Linked DNA regions of Homo sapiens: region 2 is linked to region 1. The links are contacts of gene promoters, found by promoter capture Hi-C in human tissues and cell types (Jung and others, 2019). All regions are on one chromosome and are shown on one strand. Each heading gives the region's core, a stretch centred on a gene start or on the middle of the fragment in contact. The rest is flanking DNA. Distances are from core to core; before and after follow the strand shown. Region 1 holds the start of SLC35D3 (solute carrier family 35 member D3). Region 2 overlaps PEX7 (peroxisomal biogenesis factor 7).

What was found. Contacts are between HindIII fragments. The study calls those that stand out against the background at their distance.
Region 2: a fragment that was not itself captured here is called in contact with the fragment with the promoter of SLC35D3 in region 1 in 1 of the 25 tissues and cell types used here (H1 embryonic stem cells).

What each region holds. Positions count from the first base shown.
Region 1 is chr6:136,919,048-136,925,378 of GRCh38, forward strand. It overlaps SLC35D3 (solute carrier family 35 member D3), which reads left to right and starts at 3,254. Exons shown (of 2, transcript NM_001008783.3): 1 at 3,254-3,820; 2 at 4,838-6,331. The coding sequence starts at 3,382. The coding sequence ends at 5,649. RefSeq lists an enhancer at 2,276-2,782. The HindIII fragment of the contact is 8,751 bases long and covers 1,453-6,331 here.
Region 2 is chr6:136,859,547-136,866,488 of GRCh38, forward strand. The region is part of intron 5 of PEX7 (peroxisomal biogenesis factor 7); the gene reads left to right. Among named protein-coding and RNA genes, the nearest start is that of PEX7, 40 kb to the left of the region's middle. The HindIII fragment of the contact is 4,269 bases long and covers 3,559-6,942 here.

The DNA of each region.
Region 1 (6,331 bases), core at 2,004-4,503:
CCAGGTTCTGTTAGCTACACAGACCAACCCTGGTACAGCGTGGGAGGAGTTAACATAAGGGTGTGAATACCAGGAAGCGGGTATCACTGGAGACTATCTAGAAGGCTAATTACCATAATACGCTTTTTAAAGTAGGAAATTATAGACAAATATATATGATATCCTAGTTTTGTTATTTTTTTAAAGGAGGAGTTTGCGTGTGTATAAACATACATACAAAAAAGACTGAAAGTTTCCACACTGAACACAGCAAGCTCTGTGTAGTAAGGTTGGGGATGGTGAACACTGAAGAGAGCGCGTTTACTTAATTATAAATTTGTTTTTCTTTTATGTACCACAATGAGCCTGTGTTACTTTTATAATTAGAAATAATGAAGTAAGTTTTCAAAGACACTGTAATTCCTTCTCCAGGAAGCTTTGTCTGCTACTGCTGTCAAGCTGATGTACTTGCCCTCCTGGCGCTCCCCCCTTTTCTGCCACACAATCCCACTGTTGCTAAGGATGAAGGCGCTGTGTTCATCTTTAAGTCCTCTGTGGCTAACAGAATACTTAGCACAAAATACTTGTACTATATGTTTGTTGAATGAATGGATAAACTAAAGGATTTATTTAATGTCATTAATATTTATTAAGTAGCTCCAAAGGTGATGTGCTTGAGTCTAGACCCTTGGTACCCTGATACCAATAGGTCAAATAGCTATTTAACCTTTAGATCTACATTTTTATTCATCTAGATCATTTAACCTCGCTAAACATGGTATTCTTAATTTTTCACAATTTTTAAAAGGAGCTCATCTAGTATCTGGTTTTGTGGGAGATGGGGGTTAAGGTTTTTTTCTTTCCAAAAGAATTGCATGCAACAAAGTGGAGAAAATGTGCGGTTTTATGCCTCTGTAGGTTTCAAATATTAAGCTAAATTGTCTTGCATAAATGAGAAGAGTAAGATAGCTGAATCAGCCCCAAATCTTTTACCTAATGTTAGTATCACAAATGGATGCAATTATAATTGCGGGCAGAAATGAATCATTCCAAAAGTAGGTTTGTGCAGCCACTTCTTTATATTAATAATATGCACTTAGGATGGCTTAAAGCAGCCATGCTTTTATTGGGATAGTCTCTAGAAGCAGAAATCTGTTATTTGCTGATATCTGTAAAAAGTTAATTTTCAGAGTTTTGAATCAATATATTTTGACTATACCACACACATACACATAATTTGAACTGGTGCTTCAGACTTCATTATTTCCTAAATAACATTAACTCTACAAAAACAGAGTCACTTAAACAGCCAATAGTGTGTAACCACAAGTTTTAGCAACAAAAACCAAGGGCTCCCCAGAGAACCGGAAGCACGTGTTTCAGTATAATGCTTTCCAGCTATTCCTGGAAAGTTGGCACCCTGGGCCATTCACAAACTTTTTTTGAGTGCCCACCTGTCGGGAGCAGGGACGTGGCCCTCCTAGGCACCGGGCACATAAGCTGGTGGACTGGTTGACCCCGAGCTCTCTAGAGCTCACCAAAGTGAGCATCCAGAGCCCCAAATGCTGGCCCAAATGAAGGGCTGCTGTGATGCTGCTGATCCCTGCTGTAATTTTTTTTTCTTCCTCTGTTGCGGTAAATCACGACTTCAGCACTTTGGCTGAAGTGTCGCGTTCAGCACAGAGGTGGAAGTAAGAGGCAGAAAACAGAAGAACCACGAGAGAAATGGATCCTGTCTATTAAGGCAACGTGATGCAGCGCTAAAAGGTTAGGAGGTTACGATTCCCGGGGCTAAGAGAAATAAACTGCTGGTGGTGAACGAAAGGGGTGCTGGAGCGCAGCGATCTCGAACCTTTCCCTTATAGCCAAACCCTGGCCAAGGCCACAAATTTCAAATCGCCTGAAAACCAAACTGTCTGGCGCTTAACGGTTACCTCGGCTGAGCGAAACCCTTGGCTGCTGCTGATTTAACTACAGGTCCGCGCGAGTTACTTTCCAGGGAACTGAATTCAGAACAAAGAGTTACCGAAGCCTTACTCCCTCTCCAAAATTAGAATTCCCTTTTTCTCTTAGTCATATAGGAAACACACAGTTCACAAGTCCTGTGGTGCAAAGGTGTGAACCCTGGCCCAGGGAGGTGGTGACTCTCCCCGCCCTCCGCCTGCCGGTTGTCCTGCTTCCGAAAGCAACCCACGACGGTCCCGCAGGGTGAGGGTTCCCTGGGATCAGTTCCCTGGGATCCGGAGAACGCCACGCGGAGTCTCCCTGCAGGGTGAGGGGCCCCGGGTTCCCGCCCCCTCCCCCTCTACTCTCCCATTCTGCGAGCGCAGCCAGCCTCCCCTCCCACGCTTCGGGAAGCGTCGCCCCCGAGCTCCTCGGTTCCTGGTGGTGGCTACTCGTGTTAGTGACTTCGTTTCTGCGCGTTTGCTTATTTTCATCTTTGCCTCAGTTCGAATGTGTCCCCGCCACCAGGCCCCGCTGCTGGGCGAGACCACTGAACCCCCTGAAAGCTTCCCCGGAGCCGCGCGCATAATCCCGGGACCCTCTCTGGAAGGCGTGCGGAGAGCGGTGCGCGTGGCCTGGCACCGGAAGGAGCCAGCTTCCGGGCTCCGAGGCACCCCCTGGACAGCGCCCCGGGCCGCGGGTTCCTCCTCCGATGCCCGGGCGTCGTCGCCGGGATCGGGAGCTTCGGGGGCCCGCCGGCACCGACGGTTTTCGCTTCCCTGGCGGGCAGCTGGACGAGGTCCCGCCGCTGCACCGGGAGGGACAGTGGGTGGAAAAAGCCGCTGCAGCGCCGGGGCGAGGGGGCTGGGGGCGCCGTCACTTGTTGCGACCAATAAACGGCGCTCGATCCTGATGCGCTGTTTCTAAAATCTTTAGCTGTGTCCCGATCCCTCCAACCCAAGCCCCTCGGCCAGGAGGAAGGGGCAAGCGAGAGCCGCTGGCTCTGTGGGGGGAGAGGGGCGCCGCGCCCCAAGAGCCCCCGTCCCGCCCTGCGGCAGCCGCCCCGGGGCGCCCAGCCGCCCGCTTCCCTCCGCAGAGCGTCTTCCCTGACGGTGAAACCGCGCGGGACACAACCCACCGCGGCTCATCACCCACTTACAAATAGCTGTCGCTAGGATTCCCGCCACTCCTCTCAGACCGGCCCCCCCGCCACCTCTGCCACTTTTCGGAGTCCCCCGCCCTCGTCACTGCCTCCCCGGAGCTGCGGGGCAGTCGGACGCAGAGCTGCCTAACCGCAAGAACGCCTGGCCGGAGCTGCCCTCTGCAGCCGAGCCGGCGCCCCCTGCCCTTCGCCGCCGCGCTGGGCGGGCGCCCCCGCCGCCCTCACTCCGCTGCTCCCGGCTCCTCGCGCGCAGGTCGCGGAGCTCCGCCACCGCTGGGTGCGGCGAGGCCGGCGCGATGCGGCAGCTGTGCCGGGGCCGCGTGCTGGGCATCTCGGTGGCCATCGCGCACGGGGTCTTCTCGGGCTCCCTCAACATCTTGCTCAAGTTCCTCATCAGCCGCTACCAGTTCTCCTTCCTGACCCTGGTGCAGTGCCTGACCAGCTCCACCGCGGCGCTGAGCCTGGAGCTGCTGCGGCGCCTCGGGCTCATCGCCGTGCCCCCCTTCGGTCTGAGCCTGGCGCGCTCCTTCGCGGGGGTCGCGGTGCTCTCCACGCTGCAGTCCAGCCTCACGCTCTGGTCCCTGCGCGGCCTCAGCCTGCCCATGTACGTGGTCTTCAAGCGCTGCCTGCCCCTGGTCACCATGCTCATCGGCGTCCTGGTGCTCAAGAACGGCGCGCCCTCGCCAGGGGTGCTGGCGGCGGTGCTCATCACCACCTGCGGCGCCGCCCTGGCAGGTGAGCGGGCCCCCGCGCCGACCCCCAGCCGACCCCACCCACCCCGCTCCGTCGGGCAGAGACCGCGGGGATCACTGAGTTCAACGACCTCACTTCCAGATGGGGAGACTGAGGCAGAGAGAGCCGGAGAGCTTTGAGAGTGGTCGCTCAGCTCGCAAAAGGGACTTCCGAGACCCAGAGAGCTCCCCAGCGCCCCACCAAGTCCCCCTGCCCCCTAATGTCCTGGCTTCCGACCCTCGCCCATGCTTCACCCGGCATCGCCCTTCCTGTCGCCCCCTCTCCTGGTCTTCCCCTGTCACCCCATTCTCCGGGAGAGGTGGGAGGGCCGCCTGAGCCTGGGAGCTGGAGTCCTCCAAGCCTGGACCAAGCCGGAAGGAGGGGGCCGTGAACTTCCTTGGGTCACGAGGGGCTGGAATGGAGGTGGGGGATGGGGGCGAAGCTGAGGGTTCCCGGGGCTACTGCGGGGTGTCTCGTGCTGCGCAGGGGGCTGCGGCCCTGGGGCAGACGACCCAGGTGCTGAGCGAGACGAGAGCCTGGGCAGGGGGAAGCTTCACTGGGGGCCAGAACAGGCGTTCTCCCCCGCGCCTGGCCCGCTCCGGGTTGCAGGCCACTGGCTGGGGCTCCCTCTCCCTTTGGTGCCCCACGGGGCAGGGGCTCCGGGGTGCAGGTACCACGCGCCCAAGTGACCTCGGTGCCAGCTCGGGGAAGCCACAGCACCTGCCCCGAGGGCATCTGCGCTCTCCGGGGCCTTTGTCTTGGACAGAGGAAGATGGAGTGACCCGGGGATATGGCGGGAAGGCGCTCTGAGCACTGAGTTTGGCTGTCGCATTTGACACGGGTGGCCGAGGGACGGCGGGCGTCTGTCACTCAGGAATCCGGTGGGCAGAGCTGGGGCGCGAACCCAGTCTCCTTTCCTACCCGACGCGTTTTCCCCGTGGGTCCCCGCCCACGCCAACCTGCTGTCTTCTCTCTTTTTCCTTCCCGCCCGGGCTCGGCCGTCCTCCTCGTGCGCCGCAGGAGCCGGCGACCTGACGGGCGACCCCATCGGGTACGTCACGGGAGTGCTGGCGGTGCTGGTGCACGCTGCCTACCTGGTGCTCATCCAGAAGGCCAGCGCAGACACCGAGCACGGGCCGCTCACCGCGCAGTACGTCATCGCCGTCTCTGCCACCCCGCTGCTGGTCATCTGCTCCTTCGCCAGCACCGACTCCATCCACGCCTGGACCTTCCCGGGCTGGAAGGACCCGGCCATGGTCTGCATCTTCGTGGCCTGCATCCTGATCGGCTGCGCCATGAACTTCACCACGCTGCACTGCACCTACATCAATTCGGCCGTGACCACCAGCTTCGTGGGTGTGGTGAAGAGCATCGCCACCATCACGGTGGGCATGGTGGCCTTCAGCGACGTGGAGCCCACCTCTCTGTTCATTGCCGGCGTGGTGGTGAACACCCTGGGCTCTATCATTTACTGTGTGGCCAAGTTCATGGAGACCAGAAAGCAAAGCAACTACGAGGACCTGGAGGCCCAGCCTCGGGGAGAGGAGGCGCAGCTAAGTGGAGACCAGCTGCCGTTCGTGATGGAGGAGCTGCCCGGGGAGGGAGGAAATGGCCGGTCAGAAGGTGGGGAGGCAGCAGGTGGCCCCGCTCAGGAGAGCAGGCAAGAGGTCAGGGGCAGCCCCCGAGGAGTCCCGCTGGTGGCTGGGAGCTCTGAAGAAGGGAGCAGGAGGTCGTTAAAAGATGCTTACCTCGAGGTATGGAGGTTGGTTAGGGGAACCAGGTATATGAAGAAGGATTATTTGATAGAAAACGAGGAGTTACCCAGTCCTTGAGAAGGAGGTGCATGTACGTACCTATGTGCATACACTTATTTTATATGTTAGAAATGACGTGTTTTAATGAGAGGCCTCCCCGTTTTATTCTTTGAGGAGTGGGGAAGGGAAGAAAAGAAAGAAGCTGAAAGGTACTGACACAGAGCAACAAAATTAGCACCTGTGTGAATTATTTAGTGTGACTTCACCTGAGGCATCACAGAGACAAAAGAATGTGAAGCTACTTAACAAAGTAAGGCAACGTTTCTGCTTCAGACTCCTGGCACATTTACTTTTTGTCATTATAACCATAACTAAATATCTGCATGTACCAAGAGTCCCTAAGCCACCCCCTCCAAAGATGGAGTGTAGAAATGATGACAGCACTTAGTAAGTTCAAAGATGACATTCAGGGATGCATTTTTTGATGATAGAACTACAGTTTTTATCGCCAGCTGGGCAAAGAGTATATTGCTGAAATGATATATAAATATATTGAATTGATGTTTACTGTTTATAGTCATCTGAAATATCATATTTACTCTGATTCTACTCACTTGTTTTTTAAAAATAAGTGTCCTATTATTGTATTATATATTGATAGAAACTGTTAAAGCTATTTTGAAAATATGAGTTCTTAGCTTTAATCATGAAGTCTGAAGTTTGCTTTCAGTAATTATTTTAAAAGTTGTTTTGGTTCATT
Region 2 (6,942 bases), core at 4,443-6,942, 57 kb before region 1:
CACAAGGCATTTCGGTTAAGTTATATTGGCCCCAAAGTACCCTTTTGCTACTCAGTTCACTTCCCAGTTTTAGACTCTTATGTTTACACTCATTCTCCTTATGCAACTTCCTCGTACCTGCTGCAATTTGAAATTAGACATAGTAACAGCCAGCACTTCCTTGCCCATATTGTACATTTAAATTCACTGGTTCTGGCCAGGCACAGTGGCTCACATCTGTAATCCCAGCACTTTGGGAGGCCAAGGTGAGCGGATCACTTGAGGTCAGGAGTTTGAGACCAGCCTGACCAACATGGTGAGACCCCATCTCTACTAAAAACTCAAAAAAATTAGCCAGGCATGATGGCGGGTGCCTGTAATCCCAGCTACTGGGAGGCTGAGGCAGGAGAATCGCTTGAACCCTGGAGGCAGAGGTTGCAGTGAGCCACTACACTCCAGCCTGGGTGACAGAGTTAGACTCTGTCTCAGAAAAAAAAAAAAAGAAAAAAAAATTCACTGGTTCTGTCAGTGGCAGGTCTGCAATTGATAAGAGAAGCTGGCAATTCAGGTGAGTCTATGGCACCATCACAGGGCCCTGATAAATGTCTGCCTGTCAATGAAAGGCCAGTTGTCTAGAAAATTCAATTGAAAAAACAATATAAATACAGAAGTCCTGGCAGCTGAAAGAGCTGAATGAGTCATTGTACCATTTGGTCATTAGGTCTCCTTCCTACCTGGAAAACAAAATGGCGAGGATGAAGTGCCAAATGGTTACATCAGGAGTTGCTGTCAAGGAAGTGGAATTCTCAGCTCCTGCCCAGCAGTCTTCACATTTTTGTGCCCATTAAATTAACTGCAAGAGGGGACAGCTCAAGCCATGGCTCTTTTTTTTTTTTTTTTTTTTTAAATATTGCATGAAAGTGGTGGTGTGAATTGAACAATGAGAACACATGGACACAGGAAGGGGAACATCACACACCGGGGCCTGTTGTGGGGTGGGGGAAGGCGGGAGGGATAGCATTAGGAGATATACCTAATGTTAAATGACGAGTTAATGGGTGCAGCACACCAACATGGCACATGTATACATATGTAACAAACCTGCATGTTGTGCACATGTACCCTAAAACTTAAAGTATAATTAAAAAAAAAAAGAAAGAAAGTGGTGGTGTGGAACAAAACCTCCCAACCTTTGTTATTGTGTTTTTTAATCTTTTATTGAAGTATAATACACATATTGAACAGTGCATAATCTTAGTATACAATTTGGTGAATTCTCACAATGAACACATCCTTGTAACTGGCACCCAGGTGAAGAAACAGAATGTTCCCAGAGGGCCTCCTCCCATCCTTATAGTCGCTTCTCACCACGTCCCACCCCAGGTGACCACTGTGTGGCCTTCCAATAACATGGATTAATGTTGCCCATTTTCATACCTTTGTTACTGGTTTTTTTCATGCAACATTATGTCTTGTGAGACTCATCCATGTTATTCCTACAATAACAGTTCTTAATCTCCTAGTCTGCATTCATTGTAATGTTTTGGTACTTTTAAATTTTTTTATTTTTATTTTTTGAGACAGAGTCTGGCTCTATCACCCAGGCTGGAGTGCAGCGGCACAGTCTTGGCTCATTGTAGCCTCTGCCTCCTAGGCTCAAGCAGTCCTCCCACCTCAGCCTCCTGAGTAGCTGGGACTACAGGTGCATGCTACCAAGCCCGACTAATTTTTGTATTTTCTGTAGAGACAGGATTTCACGGTTGCCCAGGCTGGTCTGGAACTCTTAAACTCAAACGACCTGCCTGCCTTGACCTTCCAAAGTGCTAGGATTACAAGTGTGAGCCACCATGCCTGACCTGTTTTGGTACTTTAAGTCAGTTCACATACTCATATCTTATTAGGGTGAACCCAAGCTCATTGATCTTGAGACAATGCTATAGCTATAGCAGAATTTATACTTTTAACCTAGTATTAGATATAAATTCCTGAAAGTTAGTATATATTATTTAGGCATTTTGTATGTTTTAATGGAAACCTCGAGCTTAATTAAATGGTTTTTTTTTAGCTAGTTTCAGGAGACTGACGCTTTAGGAGAATACCCTTCGCTCCCTTATGATAAAGAGTGATTTCCTTTGCCTGCAAGTGATAGAACTGGGACTATGTTAGATCTTTGTGAAATTTGTTAAAAAGCATACTCCAGAAAGGGAAGGGCTGTTTGAAAGGCCCCAGGACACATTCTGTTTCTCATCTGGACTTTTCTCTACTTGTTGACTTGGCTCTGCAGACTGGCTTTCTCCACACAGTGAGACACATGGCCACTAGTGGCTCCTGAATTTATATATATATAAATATATATAAATTCACTATGTTTATATATATATTCAGTGTATAATGCAGCGTGACATCCACGTCACCCTGCATTATACACTGAAGGCTGGAGAAGGTCATGAGAGATCATTTCATCAAAGCTATATATATATATTTTTTCTGTATTTATATATATATATTTTATATATATTATATATATATATATTATATATATATAGTTTTTTTTTTGGGGGGACAGAAACTTGCTCCATTGCCCAGGCTGGAGTTAAGGGGCGTGATCTCAGCTCACTGCAACCTCCACCCCTGGGGTTCAAGTAATTCTTATGCCCCAGCGTCTTGAGTAGCTGGGATTACAGGCGTGTGCCACCATGCCTGGCTAATTTATTTATTTATTTTGTATTTTTAGTAGAGACAGGGTTTTGCCATGTTGGCCAGGCTGGTCTCAAACGCCTGGCCTCAAGTGATCCACCTGCCTTAGCCTCCCAAAGTGCTAGGATGACAGGCATGAGCCACTGTGCCTGGCCATATTTTTACGTTTTTGAGACAGGGTCTTGTTCTGTCACCCAGGGTGGAGTACAGTGGTGCGATCATGGCTCACTGCAGCCTTGACCTCCCGGACTCAAGCAGTTCTCCTACCTCAACCTCCAGAGTAGCTGGGACTACAGGTGTGTGCCACCATGCCTGGCTAATTTTTAAATTTTTTGTAGAGCTGGAATCTCACTATGTTGCTCAGGCTGATCTCGAACTCCTGGGCTCAAGTGATCCTCCTGCCTTAGCCCCTTAAAGTGCTGGGATTACAGGTGTAAACCATCATGCCCAGCCTCCTGAATTTTATAAGTTGTAAATGCTACCATAAGAGGACAGACATTATTTTTTCAGTTATAGTTCAGAAAAATCCCAAGTACCTGCCTTTGACCTTTCAGCTGTAGTCAAAGCAGGGAATGAGGTACTGTGGTTGGTCTTGCCTGGACCTGCCTTTGGTCAGTCAATTGTGTTGAGGTGTAAGTCTTTATAGAATCACTTGGTGAGAAAAGGACATGCTGTTCCTAGAAAAAGGGTATTTCTGGGCAGGCCAAACACTGGACATCCACGTCACCCTGCATTATACACTGAAGGCTGGAGAAAGTCATGAGAGATCATTTCATCAAAGCTATTTGGAATTCTAGAAGCAGATTCTACTGACTGGTGGCTAGACCACAGACAGTGATTATAATGAGGGCCGTTGGAGTTATTTGAAGCTCTAACCTGTACCAATTCTGAACAATTTCCTTTTGGTACTTTCAAACTTATCATTCATTTTTCACAATGAGATATGTTGTCACTAGTGGGTCCTGAATTTTATAACTTGTCAGTTCTGCCATAGAAGAGGGACTGACATTATTTTTCAGTTGTAGTAAGAAAAATCCCAAGTACCCCCATTTGGCCTGTCAGCTGTGGTCTGAGCAAGGAATGAGGTGCTATGGACGGAGGTACCATCCTTAGCTAGGTCCAAAAATGTTTGTTACTCTCATCTATCAAAGTGGTTTTCAACCTTTTTTTAATGTAGCAGGACAGTATTTTTAAATCAAAAAAGGAAAAAAAATCCTACATACAAAGCAGTAGTAGTACGTATTTATGGATCCATAAAAATATAATAAAAGTATTACCAAAATGCAAACTAAAGGGCTGTGGACCAAATTCATGACTGTTGTGGCCTCTGGGCAGGGAGGATGGGAAGTGGTATTGAAAATATAATAGAAATTTTTCTCCGATTTATAGAAAAAGTAATACAGGGCTGGATGCAGTGGCTCACACCTGTAATCCCCTCACTTTGGGAGGCTGAGGCAGGTGGATTGCTTGAGCTCGGGAGCTGGAAACCAGCCTGGACAACATGGCAAAACCCCGTCTCTGCCAAAAATAGAAAAATTAGCAGGGGCATGGTGGTGTGCGCTTGTAGTCGCAGCTACTTGGGAGGCTGAGATGGGAGGATTGCTTGAGTCTGGGAGGTGGAGGTTGCAGTGAGCTGAGATCGCATCACTGCACTCCAGCCTGGAAATTAAAAGAATTAAAATAATTCCTCCAGAATTAGCCAACATTGATTGTATGGCATTTGTCGTCCAGCAACACAAGGAGGCAGCAGCGCAGTGTAGTTGTAAAGCTGTAAAGTGTGCATGCTGGGGACCCAGACTCCTTGGGTTCTGGTTCCAGGTCCTGGTTCTGTTGCTTACTATCCTGGGTGAGTTATTTCATCTTTATATGCTGCATTTGTATAGTACTATATTCCTCATTTGTATAGTACTATACAATTACTTTTATATCTCCAAATTCCTACTTTATGTAGTTGTGATGTTTTTAGAAAAAATATGTATAAAATGCTTAGAACAGTATGTGGCACATTGGAAGCACTCAAATATTAACTATTATTCATGTTGTTATTATTGGGGGGACATAAATAACTTCTAATCATGGGTATTTTTTCTCATAAAAAAAAAACACACATATTGAGAGCTTACTGCATATCTTTTGCGTATCTGGCACCGTACTCATGCTACTACCTTGTCTCATTTCAGCCTTACAAGGCAGTTATTTTATTGTAGGTAGGAAACTGAAGATCAGCGAAATAACTTGATTAAGCATCAGTGGCCACCAAATGATTGAGCTGGATTAGAACCAAGCTCAGGAACTCCAAAGGCCCTGTTCTTAACCTCTGCATTTCATTACTGCCAACACATTTCTTATCTTTCTTAAGCAACTTCCGAAGAAGCCAGGAAAAAATTGCCTAGGATAGCTAAATTTAGCTTAACAATATATGATTTAGAATTGGGAATATAGGAAAATATATGTAGATAAGTGAAAGATACTTTAAAAATTTAGCATTTTTATATACCGTATTTGGCAGTTTCTAGTATGTGTTAGAGACCATGCTAGGTGCTTTACAGAAACGTGATGAAATTCTTAGACAGCGCTGCATGTTGGGCATTCTGTGTCTCCTTTAGAATGAATCAGTCTCAGAGATATTACGTATCCTATGCAGGGTATGTATCCTATAACCACAAAATGGCATTCAAGTCCCCACCTGCTATCATGCCAGAAACTACATGCTTTTCATTACATGGAACTGGTTTTCTCACATCATCAGTTGTTTATATTTTACTTTTGAGGTAGGTATATATATTCTGGATTTTATTCATCTTGTCATCTTTTGTTTCCTCATAGTTTAGAAAAACTGGAGGCAAACAACATGTAAAACATTTAATTGGGTGTCTGTGCAATTAAGTAATGCAAACTGTTTTTGTAATAATGCAAAGTGTAATCTTTAAATGTTTTTAGCTTGTTGGCCAGGCATGGTGGCTCATACCTGTAATCCCAGTACTTTGGGAGGCTGAGGTGGGAAGATTGCCTGAGGTCAGAAATTCGAGACTAGCCTGGCCAACATGGTGAAACCCCATCTCTCTCACTCTTTATTTATTTATTTATTTTTTTGAGATAGAATTTCACTCTTGTTGTCTGGGTTGGAGTGCAGTGGCACAATCTCGGCTCACTGCAACCTCTGCCTCCCAGGTTCAAGTGATTCTTCTGCCTTAGCTTCCCCAGTAGCTGGGATTACAGGCACCCGCCACCACCACGCCCAACTAATTTTTTGTTTAGTAGAGATAGGGTTTCATCATGTTGGCCAGGCTGGTCTCAGACTCCTGACCACAGGTGATCTGCCCACCTTGGCCTCCCGAAGGGTAGGGATTACAGGCGTGAGCCACCACGCCTGGCTAAAACTCCATCTCTACTAAAAATACAAAAATTAGCTGGGCGTGGTAGCACACATCTGTAATCCCAGCTACTTGGGGGGCTGAAGCATGAGAATTGCTTGAACCCAGGAGGTGGAAGTTGCAATGAGCTGAGACCGTGCCTCCGCACTCCAGCCTGGGCAATAGAGCAAGACTCTGTCTCAAAAAAATATCAAAATAAATAAATAGGCCGGGCGCTGCGGCTCATGCCTGTAATCCCAACACTTTGGGAGGCTGAGGCGGGTGGATCACGAGGTCAGGCAATCGAGATCATCCTGGCCAACATGGCGAAACCCCGTCTCTACTAAAAATACAAAAATTAGCTGGGCGTGGTGGTGTGCACCTGTAGTCCTGGCTACTCGGGAGGCTGAGGCAGGAGAATCACCTGAACCTGGGAGGCGGAGATTACAGTGAGCCGATATCGTGCCACTGCACTCCAGCCTGGCGACAGAGTGAGACTCTGTCTCGAAATAAATAAATAAATACATAAAAATAAATAAATAAAATTTTTTAGCTTTTTTTTTTGAGGAGAAAAATACACTTATAGCTGGCCCGTTAAAATATAGTATACTTGACAATGAAAAGTAAAAAATTCTCCATTTTGGCTTGGTAGACTTTGCCCGCCTTTAGCAGTAAAATTGTTACTCTATTGTTGGTTTCTAGTACAATACACTGGTACAGAGTGATCACTTTATTTCCTAACACGAGAATTTTCAGGGCCTTTCCTGCCTCGAACACACACCAGCTGTGTGTTTAGTCAATACTGTGTTTATCTCAGCGTGAGATTCAAATTTTCCTCCTAATAGCATTATCACGGTGCAACGTCACTTTTTGTATTCCTTCATTTGAATAGTTCCTATACATTATTATGGTT